Linked DNA regions of Homo sapiens: all the other regions are linked to region 3. Evidence: promoter capture Hi-C in 16 types of primary human blood cells and fetal thymus (Javierre and others, 2016). All regions are on one chromosome and are shown on one strand. Each heading gives the region's core, a stretch centred on a gene start or on the middle of the fragment in contact. The rest is flanking DNA. Distances are from core to core; before and after follow the strand shown.

What was found. Contacts are between HindIII fragments. The CHiCAGO score rates a contact against its expected background, and 5 or more counts as called.
Region 1: a fragment that was not itself captured here is called in contact with the fragment with the promoter of SLC17A5 in region 3 in 1 of 17 cell types (non-activated CD4 T cells); the score reaches 6.3 in non-activated CD4 T cells.
Region 2: the fragment with the promoter of TTK here is called in contact with the fragment with the promoter of SLC17A5 in region 3 in 4 of 17 cell types (non-activated CD4 T cells, naive CD8 T cells, fetal thymus and 1 more); the score reaches 14.5 in non-activated CD4 T cells.

Annotation. Positions count from the first base shown.
Region 1 is chr6:79,236,134-79,240,529 of GRCh38, reverse strand. It overlaps HMGN3-AS1 (HMGN3 antisense RNA 1), which reads right to left. Exons shown (of 2, transcript NR_040671.1): 2 at 3,730-4,396. Among named protein-coding and RNA genes, the nearest start is that of HMGN3, 3.6 kb to the right of the region's middle. The HindIII fragment of the contact is 1,879 bases long and covers 1,850-3,728 here.
Region 2 is chr6:80,002,141-80,006,860 of GRCh38, reverse strand. TTK (TTK protein kinase) reads right to left here and starts at 2,212. Exons shown (of 22, transcript NM_003318.5): 1 at 2,148-2,212; 2 at 879-1,019. The coding sequence starts at 1,017. RefSeq lists enhancers at 2,611-2,730, 2,301-3,175. The HindIII fragment of the contact is 2,460 bases long and covers 910-3,369 here.
Region 3 is chr6:73,652,373-73,657,480 of GRCh38, reverse strand. SLC17A5 (solute carrier family 17 member 5) reads left to right here and starts at 3,489. Exons shown (of 11, transcript NM_012434.5): 1 at 3,489-3,688. The coding sequence starts at 3,595. RefSeq lists an enhancer at 2,285-2,374 and a silencer at 3,374-4,043. The HindIII fragment of the contact is 4,556 bases long and covers 2,334-5,108 here.

The DNA.
Region 1 (4,396 bases), core at 1,540-4,039, 5.6 Mb before region 3:
TGAATAGACATTCTTTTTCTCATTTTATAATAAGGAAACCAGGGTTCAAAGAGGTTAAGTAATGTGATGGTAGCTCAATAGCTTGAGATTTGAATTCATGCCTATGACTGCAAATTCCAAACTTTTTGATAAACATTTATTTTTAAAATGGTTAAAACAATTTTTTTGACATGTTAAGAGGTAAATTGGATTATTTAGGAGAAAAAAAAAGAAAAAAACAACCCATTTGCTTAAGATTACAGACAGCAGAAGTGGGAGTGGGAATGAGAAGGTAGAAAAGGATGAGAGTTTTTTTGTGGGAGTAGCACAATTCTGTGTTTTAAAAACAACAAAAGCCTTATGCAGATAAGCAGCCTTGAAGATTATGGCACATTTGCAGGCTAGTTTTCCACTGCTGGGCAAAACTTTATTGCCTTGTGGCTAGAATTCATTCTGACCTGGTGGCTAGAATTCATTCTGACCTGGCCAAACTCATTTTATCGGCTAACTCTTTCTTAGTGCTTGAGAATTACAAGAGTTATTAACCAAGCTAACCTGAAAATCATCTCCAGTTGCTTTATGGTATTTTTCAGAATGATTCATTCGACTCTCATTTCCCCAAACCAGCATTTTCTTGCTTTCATTGAGAAAAGGAAAATGGTATGATATCTCCGAAAGGCAGGACCATTGAGGGTAGCGACGGGGATGGGGTTACTAAATGTTCCTTACAAGCTCCCAGGGATTCTGAGATTTGAAGGAAATGCAGAAGACACCAAAAATAGGTAGTCAAAATCACTAGCTTAAAGAAAAGGGTGTGGTCCCATTTGAGAGTGTACTGGCACTGACAGTAGTTTACAAGAATGTGCAATTCAGTCGGAGAGCTCTGCAACAACTACTAATTGGTCTTTGGCACCTTGCAGCTTGTGGCTTTTTACCTAAGGGGATGGGATGGAGTCCTTATTTTGCTGTGTCCTCACCATGAACTTTGGGGATTTCCTTCCCTTAACTTTCTCACCTCCTTGAGCCTGGATGGCTCTTGGCACCAGCCATGCTAACAATCTGACAAAAAGGAATGGCTAAACCAATGTATCCCAATCCCTGGTTCTAGCTACTGAGCATATCTAATTCATTCCCAAATAGTCATTTGGGTGCTAAAAAGAGCAAATTAATCACACTCCTGTGAGTTTAAGCAGCAGGAGCAAGAAGGAGAGGTAAATATCACAGAGATTGAACCTGAAAAGTACCAGGGGTGGAAAAACTGTGTAAAACATACCTGGGGTAAAGAATCTGCACAAATATTAAATTTGATTGAAGGTTGGGAAAACAAAGAGTGGGTTCCTTGGAAGGTCACAGAATGCCCTGGTTCCTCTTGCTGTTAATGCAGTTGTGAAGTATGCTTATGCAATCATTGACATTTAGCCTTGAAAGGGTGTGGCTTATGGGCTTTGGCCAAGGTAAGTTCCCTTTGAGGATTTGGGATCAGGGATTTTCATCTCCCAGGGGCCCAAGGAGCTGCCTAGAGGGGCTGCCTGGGAAGAAGAAGACACTTTTCTAGGTATCTGGATGTGTGCAGTTTTTAATCACTCTTCAGGTTCCTTGCAACTACAGAAGAGAAAGAAAGTGAAATAAACAGGTTGTGCCCAGCAAAACTGAGATGGAGCAAAAGCATGAGGTGAGGACTGTGGGGCGAGTTTCACCCACAGAATTACGCTCCTGCTCTGGAAGTATGTTGAGAACTCCACAGGCTTTTATAGATACCTGTCATCAGAATCCAAGTACCGGCATTCAGCAAATATTTGTTGAGAGCAAGGGCCTAGTCTATTAAATACTCTAGTCCCCGAATTATAGTGTAAGCAACACATGAAAAGCTTGTTTGAAAATGCAGATTTCCAAGCCTAGCCATTCAATACCTTGGGACTGGGGCCTAGGGATCTGCACTAATATCAGGCAGCTCATTTGATTTGGGACCGTTAGTTCTTGGACTCTTATTGTTGCTTTGTAAAAACTAACCTTGGTCTCTTCAAAAGTTAGCACCCAATCAAAGTAGAGACTTGACTGGAAAATACAAACAAAATATTCTTTTGCCACCTCTTATTTGTTGTTTTTGATGTTGTTTTGTTACACACCTGAATTCTTCACTGTGTATTTTTTGACCTATTTATGGAAGATTAGTAACTTAATCTGGAATTACAAACTATCAGAAGCAACACAGTATCATTTTCACTTTTCCCCTTTCTTCCTTTCTCCCTCTGTCTGTCTCTCTCTCTCTCTCTCTCTGTGTGTGTGTGTGTGTGTGTGTGTGTCTGTCTGCCAATGTCTCTGTCTCTTTCTTTGCCTTAATGATAGTCATGACTATCATTTGTTTTGCCCTGCTGTCTGAAAAATGCAAAGTAGGTGTACAGTTGCAACTATCAAAAGCAACAATATGTACATTCTGGATCTGACTTCTCCAGTAATTTGTCATTACTTACAGCAAAAGCCTAAGGGACCCTGCCTGTGTCTGCCTGAAAGAGGAAAAGAGGGACAGTTCAAGAAGGAGGTGATCTGCAAGTCATTCTTTCCCTTGAAAACTTCCTCTCAAGCCTGGTGTGGTGGCTTGCACCTATATAACTACTCAGGAGGCTGAGGCAGGAGGATCTCTTCAGCCCAGCAGTCTGACGTGCAGTGAGCTATGATTGTGCCACTGCATGCCAGCCTGGGCAACAGAATGAGATCTTACCTCTAAAAAAAAAATTTTAATATTAAGCATTTTTTTTTCGGAATGTCAAAGATCCACAACATTCATTAGCAGTGGCATTCAATTTTTTTGACCAAGACCATACTAAAAATATATTTCATGTCACAATCCAACATACACACATACATATCTGTGTTGTGTATGTGTTTATATGAGCACATATGGAAAATAGAAACAATTATCTTATGAAACATTACTTACCTTTACCATATATACTCTGCTATTTTCTATGCTTGGCCCTTTCTTTGCTTTTCTTAGCCTTCCCTTCTCCCTTCTCCCTCTCTCTCTCTCTCTCTCTGTGTGTGTGTTTGCGTGTGTGTGTCTGTCAATGTCTCTGTCTCTTTCTTTTCCTTAATGATAGTCATGACACTATAAATGGTTTTGCCCTGCTGATTGAAAAATGTGAAGTAGGTGTACAGTTCCAACAGTTTTGAGTAGGACAAAAGAGGAGAGGAGCTGGAATTGGAAAACAAGTTTGTTCACTATTTTTTTTCTTTCTGTCTCAGTCAGTAACTCTGTTAATTTATCCAGGTCTACCTTAGCTAAGATAGTATATACATCCTACTTTTACTGTCTTAGAGGCTGATATTCCAAAGTAGTAGAAATGCTCAGTGGAATATATTGATAAACAAATGAGTCTGTACTTCTTACCAGCTTGACCTCCTCACTGTCTTCTATGTGACACCCTCATTTCTGCCCAGATGTCTTTATCTCTTAACCTAGAATTCTAGCTACCTGCTAAATCATTCTCTTTGCCTACTCTTCTTACCTCCAGGGCCACCAGTAGAGGTTTGCACTGACTTTCCCAGATCTTGAAGGCTACTAAAGGTACAAGGGAGAACACTTCATTTCCTAGAGTAGTGCTCAGCCAGGTGCAATCTACATCAAAGGAAAGATAAGCAATGCTGTTGTTTTTCAACCGAAGCTGTTATTTTCATAACTTGTAAATGAACTAAAGATTCCAAGAACTCGAGGTCCTCACAATCAGCTTTCTTCATCCAACAAGCAAGCTTCAATTTCATCGTAGCATTTTTATTGTGTGCAGTAAAAACATTCACAATTTTGTTTGCTGTTGATGATCTGAGTGTTTGGTTTTGAAAAAAAATTAACAAAGAAGCCAATTTTGTGAGTTATTTTTCATCACAGAGGAGAAATATTCACCTTAGCACTACCTTTGTTGTGGCACCTTTCCATCTCCATGAAGAAAAATAGCCATCCAGTCCAGATTGCAAGTGCTACTCAGTATCCTTCTCACACATATCTTACTAAAAATGTTTTCACTGACTTTTTCTTTATTTAACTATCAAGTATTTGGCAAATTAATATCTTGAAAGACATCTTCATTATAAATATTATTTTAATGATAAAATTATTAACTTGTAAATTTTTATCTAGCTCTAAGCAATTGGTTTTTATCTTAATTCGTTTCAGTATACTATTGTCATTCACTGAATGCCCAAGAACAGGGAATCTATCAAAAATGATTAAGATCATGTCAAAAGGACACAAGCACTAATTTGAAAGGGTATGCATTGGCTAAAGATGTGGTAATAGGAGCATTAAAAAGGTAATAATAATGATAGCAATACACTGATGCACACCAAATATGTAAAAATCCATGAGTTCATAAAGATGTTCCAAAAAAGAAAGTAATCAACCACCTCTGGAGAGTACTAGATC
Region 2 (4,720 bases), core at 963-3,462, 6.4 Mb before region 3:
ATATAGTGCATGCATAACTTTGCTTTGTCGTTTTAAATTTAATTTGGTCTGACCTTAATTTTCTATTTTTACCTCCTATTGCTTTCCTAAGAAATTAGTCTGTGAAATGTCTAAAAAACACACATTGCCATCTGTGGCTTTGCAGATGCATTCCTCATGCCTGAGTACCCTATTCTTCCTCTAATCAACAAATAAAACATTTGTGTTTTATCATGCTAGTATTCCTATGATGCCCAGCATGCATTACAATGTAGCATAGTGAATATATAAATTCTCATCTAGAAAGAAACTATGGTTTTAAGCATCTTTGAATCTTCCTCAGTACTTAAAATACTCAATTGCCTTGATGTACAACCTTTGTTAGTGACATAATTAAGCACAATTATACTCCATTAAGATTTTGCTTAACACTAAAACTATCATTTTCTAGGTTTTTTCAAAGTGAACAGTCAGCCACCATGATTAGATCACAGGTTCTTCCATTTATTTTCAATTCCTCATCTATTTAAAGGTTAGTATAGATGTAAGAAAATTATCCAAAGGTCACCATTCAAATGACCAACCATTTGAAATACAGTAAAGAATCAGGCTTCTGAGCTAATACTTTTAGAAGAGCTAGAGTATTAAACTCTGGGCATTTTCACCCATTAATCATTGTTCAATAAATGTTTAAGTGCCTACCTACCATGTGCCAGACACCATTCAAAGTTCTGTGGATATAACAGACAAAAACCCTGCCATCATGTAGCCTGCATTCTAATGGAGGAGAAAGACAATAAACACATGAGTAAATTATAAATAAAGTGATTAGTACTATATCTTTACCTTAGAGGATACCCAACAAACAGTTACTAACTTAAAAGAAAAGAAAAACTCACCTGTAGTATCAGCAGAAATTTTATTCAAGCTTAGTTCATCAGTAAGGTCTTCATTTTTAAACTTATTTTTAATGTCTCTCACTTTGTTCATTATGGAATCAATTGTCAATTCTCTGCCACTTAAATCCTCGGATTCCATTTCTAAGAAAAAAACTGAACAGTCATAACTCCTACTTTAACTAGCATCAAAGAAAAAAATGCACTAGCTTTTTAGAACCCAGACGACTAAAGCATTCGTTTTGTGAACACATCTAAATGCAGCTATTATTAGGCTAGTATTAATGGAGGTAAGTGCACAACAACAAGGTACACATCTTTGTAATTTATTCACCAAGGTTTCATAGGCCAAGTATACTTTTTCCCCCAATATAACATCAATGACGTCACACTGTAGAAATCTGCAAATTTAGTGTCACTTAAAAAAAATATGATAGAGTGTTTGCTTGGATTTTGGTAGCGACATACACATAAAGATTGCTTGGATTCTGGTAGTGACATAGACATAAAGAATTCGTTTGGCAATGGGAATAACAATTCCTTTATTCGCCTGCTTTACTTGAGTAAATCTTCCAGTGCAAGTGCTTTCAAAGCAGAATATAAACATGATGGGGCTTTACTGATAATTAGGAAATCCGCAGATTTATTCTTGTGCATATCTAGCAGAATCACGATTTGCTACCTTAATCTAACACTAAGAAACTATTGTACTGGTACTGAGCACTTGCTTATCTGCATGGTGGTGGTGTTTGTTCAATAAAGTGTCTGCAGTCTTATTGTTAATCGTATCTTTGTGACTCTCAAACACCAACTCAGTGTCACTGATAACAATGCTGCCCCGTCTTCAGGTTTAACAATGAAAAAAAGTCATAAAGTTGCAGCAAGGTATCACTCCACCTCTTAAGTCAGGTTTGAAAGATAACTGTCAGATCACGGCCACCCGCTTCTTTCCCAGTTCTAACCCCCAAAACAAGAGAGACTGTCCTTTGGAAAACGATCTTGTGCGCAGGTACCCCACCACCCCTTCTTTCCAGCGTGGGCCACACCCACTTCTTACTTCCTCAACAAAACCTCCTGCATCACCCCACCGGCCAGACCCGCTGAGGCAGTGAGACATCCCCTCCCCCTCCAGCTCGTTTAGCCGCGTCGCATACCTGGCTCCGAGCTGCCCCCACCTCGCCCCACCCCTCACCGACCAGCGCTAACAATGAGCCCCTACACCGGCTGCGGCTGTTCCTCAGTGCGCCGGTGCACCGGTAAGACAGAACTTACCTACAGAAAGCTGCGCTGGGGAAATGAAAAGATGGAACCCAAACTCCTTTCCGCAAACACGTTTGAATTTCCCCGTCGCTATCACTACGGTCTCCTATTGGTCAATGCTAGCCACGTAGAAGCGACAGTCGTGATTGGTTCTTGTGCGACGGGGGCCGCCCCTCCTCCTGCGTCAGGCTAGGCCCGCCCCGGAAGAGCCTGCGGCCGCGACCCCACCCGTGCGGCGCCTGGGTTGGTAGGGTGCTGGCACTTTGCAGGCGTTCCCCGGACGCCCGTGGGCGGGCTTTCCTGGTCTTTCCAGTTTAACCAGGCCGAATTTTTGCCTGGGAGGTAGCCACTCCCGAGCAAACCTACCCAGTGAGAGGAATATAGGGGCAGGGACGGCTGCTCCTAGCATCAGGACCTAAAAGATGCACCTTGGGCCGGCCCTTTACTGACCCCACCGCCACCCTTCTCCTTCGTTTCCCGCGGTTCTCACAGCCTGGCTTAGAGAGGATGTGGCAAGAAAGGATCTTTCACTGAGCTACGTTCAGCCCTGCCGCCAGCTCAAGAATTTCAGTGCTTTTTATCCTTGAGCTTCTGCTTATGCCCTTCCATTATCCTTAAATGACTCCACGCTCTGTCTTCAAGCCAAGACCCTCCCCCTTGTCAAAATTCTGCGCAGAACTCAAGCGCCCATCGTGATTGCCCTGTCTGAAGTCGCCTTATCGGCCCCCCTCCCTCGAAGCCTGCCCCACTTAAGGGCTCAGGTGTCCTCAGGGGTAAAAACATCTCCCTAGTAATAATCTTCGCGGGTGCGAGGCTCTGCCGCTAAGTGGCTTTGTGGTCCAGGGCAACGGTTACTCCTCGTCTGCAAAACTAAAAGGGATGTGTCTGTTGTGCCAGCATTATGACATATATTCTGTGGTAGGACGGGTTGGTTTTGTGTATGTATAGGAAACTAACTGCAGCTGTCACTTGTTAACTCCAAAGCTATCCTTAGAACCCTCACATTCCCAGCTCTGGATAGCCACCCAGCTAGCGTGAGAGCCCTTCTCAATCACTTAATGCATCTTTCTGTGTCAGCTAGCTAGTATTTCTGCTTCAGCAGAGCAAAATGACTTGCTATACCATGGTTGGCTAATCACTTACCTTTGCACCATTGCATCTAATGCTTCTGCCTGGAAAGAGTTTATTATTCCTCCAATTCTCGTTGATCTGTTTGCGGCCTGATCACAAAGCTTGCATTTTCCTTAAAATACTGTTGCTGGATGACCTCACCCTAACACTTCTTTCTGTACTCTCGTTTGGTGGTCTCCTTCAGTCTTCTATTTTTAAATACCATCTATATGTTGATGGCTCCCAAATGTGTATCATTAGCTGAGCTCTCCTCAACTCCATACTCAGATATCCACTGCCTACTTATTAACATCTTCACTTACATGTCTCATACGCATCTTGAACTCAAAATGTCCAAAACCAAGCCCCTGATCTTCCTACCCAAACCTGTTTTTTTTACAAAATCTATAAAAGACAAATTCATTGTCTTAAATTTTTTAGCCCCAAAACCTTTGTGTCATCCCTGATCCCTTATCTAACTCATAAGCAGATTGAGTCAGGGCTGGCACAAGAGATTCCTGGACTCCTACCAGTTCTCCCCACCTCCACTGCCACCACTTCAGTCCAAGGCATCTGCATCACTTAACTGATGTTACCTGCAGTAGCCTCCTGGCTGGTCTCCCTGCTTCTGCCCTTGCCTCACCTCAATTTATTCTCTGACATAGCAAAGTCATCTTAAATCAGATTATGTCACTACTTTGCTCAAAACCCTTCAGTGCTCCCTTTCTAGCTCGGAATAAAATCAAAAGTCCTTGTGATGGTCTGTGACTATTGAGCACTTGAGTATGTCTAGTGCAACTGGGAACTGAATTTTTAAATCAATTAACCTTAATTGATTAATTAAATTTATATTTAAATTTGAAAACTGATATCTAATGGGATTATTTTTAAACTATTTAAAGTAATTTTTTTTGCTTTCTTTTTTCTAAACTTGCATTAGTCATGAATTTATTGGAAGACTTTTAAGTATACTTGGAACAATGTAAGTATATGAACCTACTTTTTCAACTGTAAATTTTGTGAGAACCAAATGCAGATGAAGTATTTCCAGTGAAAGTGTCTGAGTATGAAATGTGATGTACTGTTAAGTATAAAATACACTCTGGATTTTGAAGACTGAATAAGAAAAAGTAATAAACATTGATAATTTTAAAAATATCAATTACAGGTTAAAATGATATTTTTGCTATATTGAGTTAAATAAAATATATTATTAAAATTAATACCACCCCATCACAGAGGAGACTAAGAAGACATGACAACTAAATGCACTGTGATATCATAAACTGGATCCTGAAACAGGAGGATGACATTAATTGAAAAATTAGTAAAATTCAAATAAAGTCTGAGGTTTAGTTAATGAAAATGCACTAATGTTGGTTTCTTGGTTTTGAAAAATGCATCACAGTAATGCGAGATCTTAACAGAAAAACAATGAACAGTATACAGCAATTCACTGTACTATTTAATACACT
Region 3 (5,108 bases), core at 2,240-4,739:
GGCGTCACAGGGAGGCCCTGTCTCTAACAAAAATGTTTTTAAATTAGCAGGGCGTGGTGGCACATGCCTGTGGTCTCAGCTACCAGGGAGGCTGAGGTAGGAGGATCACTTGAGCCCAGGAGGTGGAGCCTACAGGGAGCCGTGATCACACCTCTGCACTCAAGCTTAGGTGACAGAGTAAGATCCTGTCTCAAAATCTTCTTGGGAAGATTATAAAAACAAAAACCAAAGTACCTCCTCTGAACCTAGAATCAATGACACTGCAATAGGAAGAAGTACACCCAATGCTCAGATGTTAGTTTGTAATATCATTCTCCTTATAGAAATGGCAGGGGTAGAGAATACACAAGATGAGCCTGGAACATCTTGTTGTACCAGAAAGTAAGGGAATGCTCAAAAAACACAACAATGGAGGCATGCAAGACACAAGAGCCAACTGAAAGAGCTCTTAGTCACCAAAGCTGGAACAATTTGAGCAACAAAATAAATAACATAGTGTTGGGAGTATAACCCAAAGTATAAAATAATAACCATGACATCATACTAATAAAAATAAATGATTGAATAAGTAAATAAATGTAGGAGAATAAACAAATCTCCCAAACAAAAGAATTCTTCCCCTGAAACTGGTGGAGTATAGATAACTCCCCACCCCTTAAGTGAAGGCTGCACATACTGATTTCCTTCCAAAGAGAAAAGTAAGGCCGGGGGAAAAGAGTTAACTTCACAGTGAAAACACCTGACAAACACAACCTCAGGCATGCAATGAGGCTTACCATCACTACTGATAAACATCAGTGATAAATAAGTTGACAGCACATTCCCTTGACATTACATGATGAGAATGGCCCTTTACCTCTATGACCTTTCCCTCAAAAATCCATAACCCCAGTCTAATTATAAGAAAAACATTCAGGCCGGGGGTGGTGGTTCATGCCTGTAATCCCAGCACTTTGGGAGGCTGAGGCAGGTGGAGGCTGAGGCAGGAGGTCAGGAGATGGAGACCATCCTGGCTAACATGGTGAAACCCCATCTCTACTAAAAATACAAAAAATTAGCCGGGCGTGGTGGCATGCACCTATAGTCCCAGCTACTCGGGACGTTGAGGCAGGAGAATCGCTTGAACCTGGGAGGTGGAGGCTGCAGTGAGCCGAGATCGTGCCACTGCACTCTAGCCTGGACGACAGAGCGTGACCTCGTCTCAAAAAAAAATTCGACAACCCAAATTAAGACACTTTCTACAAAACCTACCAGTACTCTACAAAACTGTCAAGGTCAGCAAAAGCAATGAAAGTCAGGAACTGTCGATCTAGAGGAGCCTAAGGAGACATGTAATGTGGCATCCTGGATGAGATCCTGGGACCGAAAAAGGATATTAGGTAAAAATTAAAGAAACGCAAATTAAGTATGAACTTCAGTTAATAATTATCTATACTGGCTCGTTAGTTATGATATATGCATGATACTAATGTAAGATCTTAATAATAGGTCAAACTAAGCAAAGGGTATGGAGAACTCACTGTACTATCTTTGCAACGTTTATGTAAACCTAAAATTTCTAAAATAAAAAATATTAAAAAAAAGAATTCCTCTGGTTTGAAGTCTTTCAAGTCTGTTGCAACTATATTCCCTGGCCCAAGTTATCTATAACCTTGGTCATCTGGGAGCTTGTTAGCAATACAGAATCTCAGGCACATCCCAGATGTACTGGGCTTCTCAGAGAAACAGCCCCAATTGGGTAGTTTGGGTAATAAAGTTTTGGCTTTCACAATATAGGCTGGCCAACTCGACCCAAAACAGATGATGGTGCACATGCCTGGAGACCCAGGAGGACCTGTGGTGCAGATGAAGTCTGAGGACACTCTGCTGGAGAAGTCTCCCTTGCTTGGGCAAGAGAAGTGGGGGAGTCGGATTTTTTATTCTAGATAGGCCTTCAACTGATTGAAGGAAGCCCACCCAGATTATGGAAGGCAGCCATCTTTACCCAGAGTTCAATGATTTTAGTGTTAACCTCATCCAAAGACAACCAGCAAGTTAACACATAAAATTAACCATCACACCAGATCTGCTGAATCTGAATCTACATTTTAAAAGGATTTGCCAGGTGACTCTGCATAATCCAGTTTGAAAATTGCATTTTTCTACAACCCTTAGAGAGTGTAAAAATCTACATGGTAATTCAGTAACTCAGAAACAAGGCTTGATTTGCTGCTTTAACTTGAGAACTTTTCTAGCATTTACTGATCTGGAGGTAGGGATGCCTACAGAAATCCTCGCCCTCCCTTCTAGGTAAAGGACCCTCCCCTTTGTTCTCACGTGAACCTCACTAAGCTTCTAACCTGGTTTACTGAATTAGTGGCTTGTGGGTCTTCCCTGTCTACACCAAACTCTCCGAGAGCATCTACATCTTATTTTCTACCTCCACAGAGACAGCCTTTATTGGCGGATCCAGATCTGCCCTGCCAAGGCAAGCTGGGTTTTCCTAGTTTCACTTTCAGAGTCCGCAAATGCTAGCACAATCTATCCAAATTCTATCGTGGAGATAAAGCATGCACACATACATCAGAGGATTCCATAGGTCGAACCATATGAAACTACCTATGTTGATTACTTTTACCTATAAAACCAGCAACATCATAGGACTCAACAAATTTCCATTGCTGTTTTTCCGCCTAAAAGCTATTTTAGGACCAGGAGCAGTGGCTCACGCCTGTAATCCCAGCACTTTGGGAGGCCGAGGAGGATTGCTTGAGCCCAGGAGTTCGAAACCAGCTTGGGCAATATAATAAGACCAAGCCTCTACAAAAATAAAAAGTAGAAACAAAATTAGCCAGATGTGGTGGCATGCTCCTGTAGTCCCAGCTACTTGGGGGAGCTGAAGAGAATCGCTTGAGTCCAGGAGTTGGAGGTTGCAGTGAGCTGCGATTGCGCCACTGCATTCCAGCTTGGGCAACAGAGCAAGACCCTGCCTGGGAGAAAAAAAAAAAAAAAAAAAAGCTATTTTAGGGACAATATGCCGCCACAGTCACGAGGTAAATATGCCGCCACAGTCACGAGGTAGATCGTACAAAGGTTGCTAACAGTATGGCAACTGACCGCTAACAAGCGAATGTCAAGTTGTGAAATGCACACCACCCACTTCCCTAGTTCGGTCGAAGCCCTCCCCTTAATTATGTGCAATTCAAGTCCCCACTGCCCGCCCGCAAGCCCCCACTCATCCTCGCTGCGGGCAGGGTGGCCCCTGCACTTTACAAGGGGGTGCAGGAGCGGGAGACGGTCGTCCGAACACCGGCTCCCCGGCATGCGTAGACCGGCGGGCGGAGCGGGCTCACTTTGCGCCAATCCTACGAGAACTCCCAGAACTCCGCTTCCCTAGTCCAACCCAAGCCAGAGTTGCCCACACCTAAGATGGCGGCGGGGGCGGAGTCGGCGCGGCCGCCTCTGGGCGGGACCGCGGGGACTAGACGTGGCCGCGGGGCGGTGTCATCGCCCCCGCCCCGCCCGGTCCAGCCAGCTCGGCCCGGGGGCTTCGGGCTGTCGGGCCGGCGCTCCCTTCTCTGCCAGGTGGCGAGTACACCTGCTCACGTAGGCGTCATGAGGTCTCCGGTTCGAGACCTGGCCCGGAACGATGGCGAGGAGAGCACGGACCGCACGCCTCTTCTACCGGGCGCCCCACGGGCCGAAGCCGGTAAGCGGCGGGGTCGTCCAGGGGCTTCGAGTGGGCAGCGGTACCGGGGGCGGCGGTCTCTGGGCCGGCATGGCCCGGGTACCCGCACCCTGCGCCGGCGGGACCGGAGCTGCTCAGGCGCGAGGGGACATTAAGAGGGGAGCCCGTTCAGAGTGCCGCTCAGTCCCGCCTGCCTCGGTGCGCAGAAGCCCCTCGGGAACCCCGGGGGCCGCGACCGTGATCGCGGAGCCGAGCCGGGGCCTCGGCAGGTGCAGCCCCACCGGGCGGGGGCGGGGGCGGGGGCGGGGGCGGGGGAGCGGCGGTGCAGCCGGCGCTGAGCTGGTGGTTATTTTGGGTAGTGCTGAGCAAGGGACCCAGTGGAAGAACGAACTGGGAGAGAATCATCAAATGAATGGGCTAAGGTCCGAGCGGAGGACCCCGGTGTAAGAGCAAACTGGAGGAGAAACCTGCAGATCAGTAGGCAGAGGGCTGTCCTTCCCTGTCACCGCTAGGTTTCCGCCACTGCGTATCCGCCAGCATGTGACCTGGTAGCTTCTTAGGCGGGGAGGGAAGACAAAAAAGGACTGGAGTTAACATTTGTGAGTATGCAGAGGGCAACTATTGTATAACCCAGCTGATATCTTGACATTGTGCAGTAAGAGACTAAAAACATCGAGGACATTTTTTTTCCGTCTGGCAGTCTATGATTTAAGTTAGGAAAAGGTTCAGTTATCCTCAAGATACCTATGGAGTTCTAAAGTAATTTGCCAAAGGTCTTGGAACAAATCGAAAAGCAGGTACGTCATAAAGCATCTTCCCTGAATTTGAGAAAATTAAAATATTTTGCTATTTGACACTTTTGTAATATAGTTTATTTAAAAGTAACGAAAACTAAAGAACAAATCAGTTTGAATGCATTCTATAGTTTCAAAGATCTGTGCGTGAGAAAGAGTTGTGTTGGAAATTTGACTTTGGCTAACCCAGAATTGTATAGTTTCTATATTTTTATTTGTTTTTAATGTTACCAGATGGTGGCAGTAGAGGTGGCAACCTTATAGCTCCATCTGGCAGCCGGGAGCTTATTTTAGTCAACACAAACTGTAAATACCATACCATAGTTACGTTTTACCTGGAAGTCGGACTTAGTTCCATAAACTGATCATTTTCTGTGGCTTGTAGTGTTCAAATTGTATAATATTCCTCATAAAATAATATAGAAATACAGAAATAAAAGTTATAATAAAGATATTTGCCAGAGATTATTACATTGTTACAATTGAAAAATATGTATATGTATAATCAAAATTTAGCACAAATGTTAAACATTATTCTCAGGAAAATGCAGATTAAAATTACAACGAGGCACTATACACCCACTAGAATAGCTAAAATCCAAAAGGCTGATAATACCAAATGTTAGCAGAGATGTGGATAGAAAAGT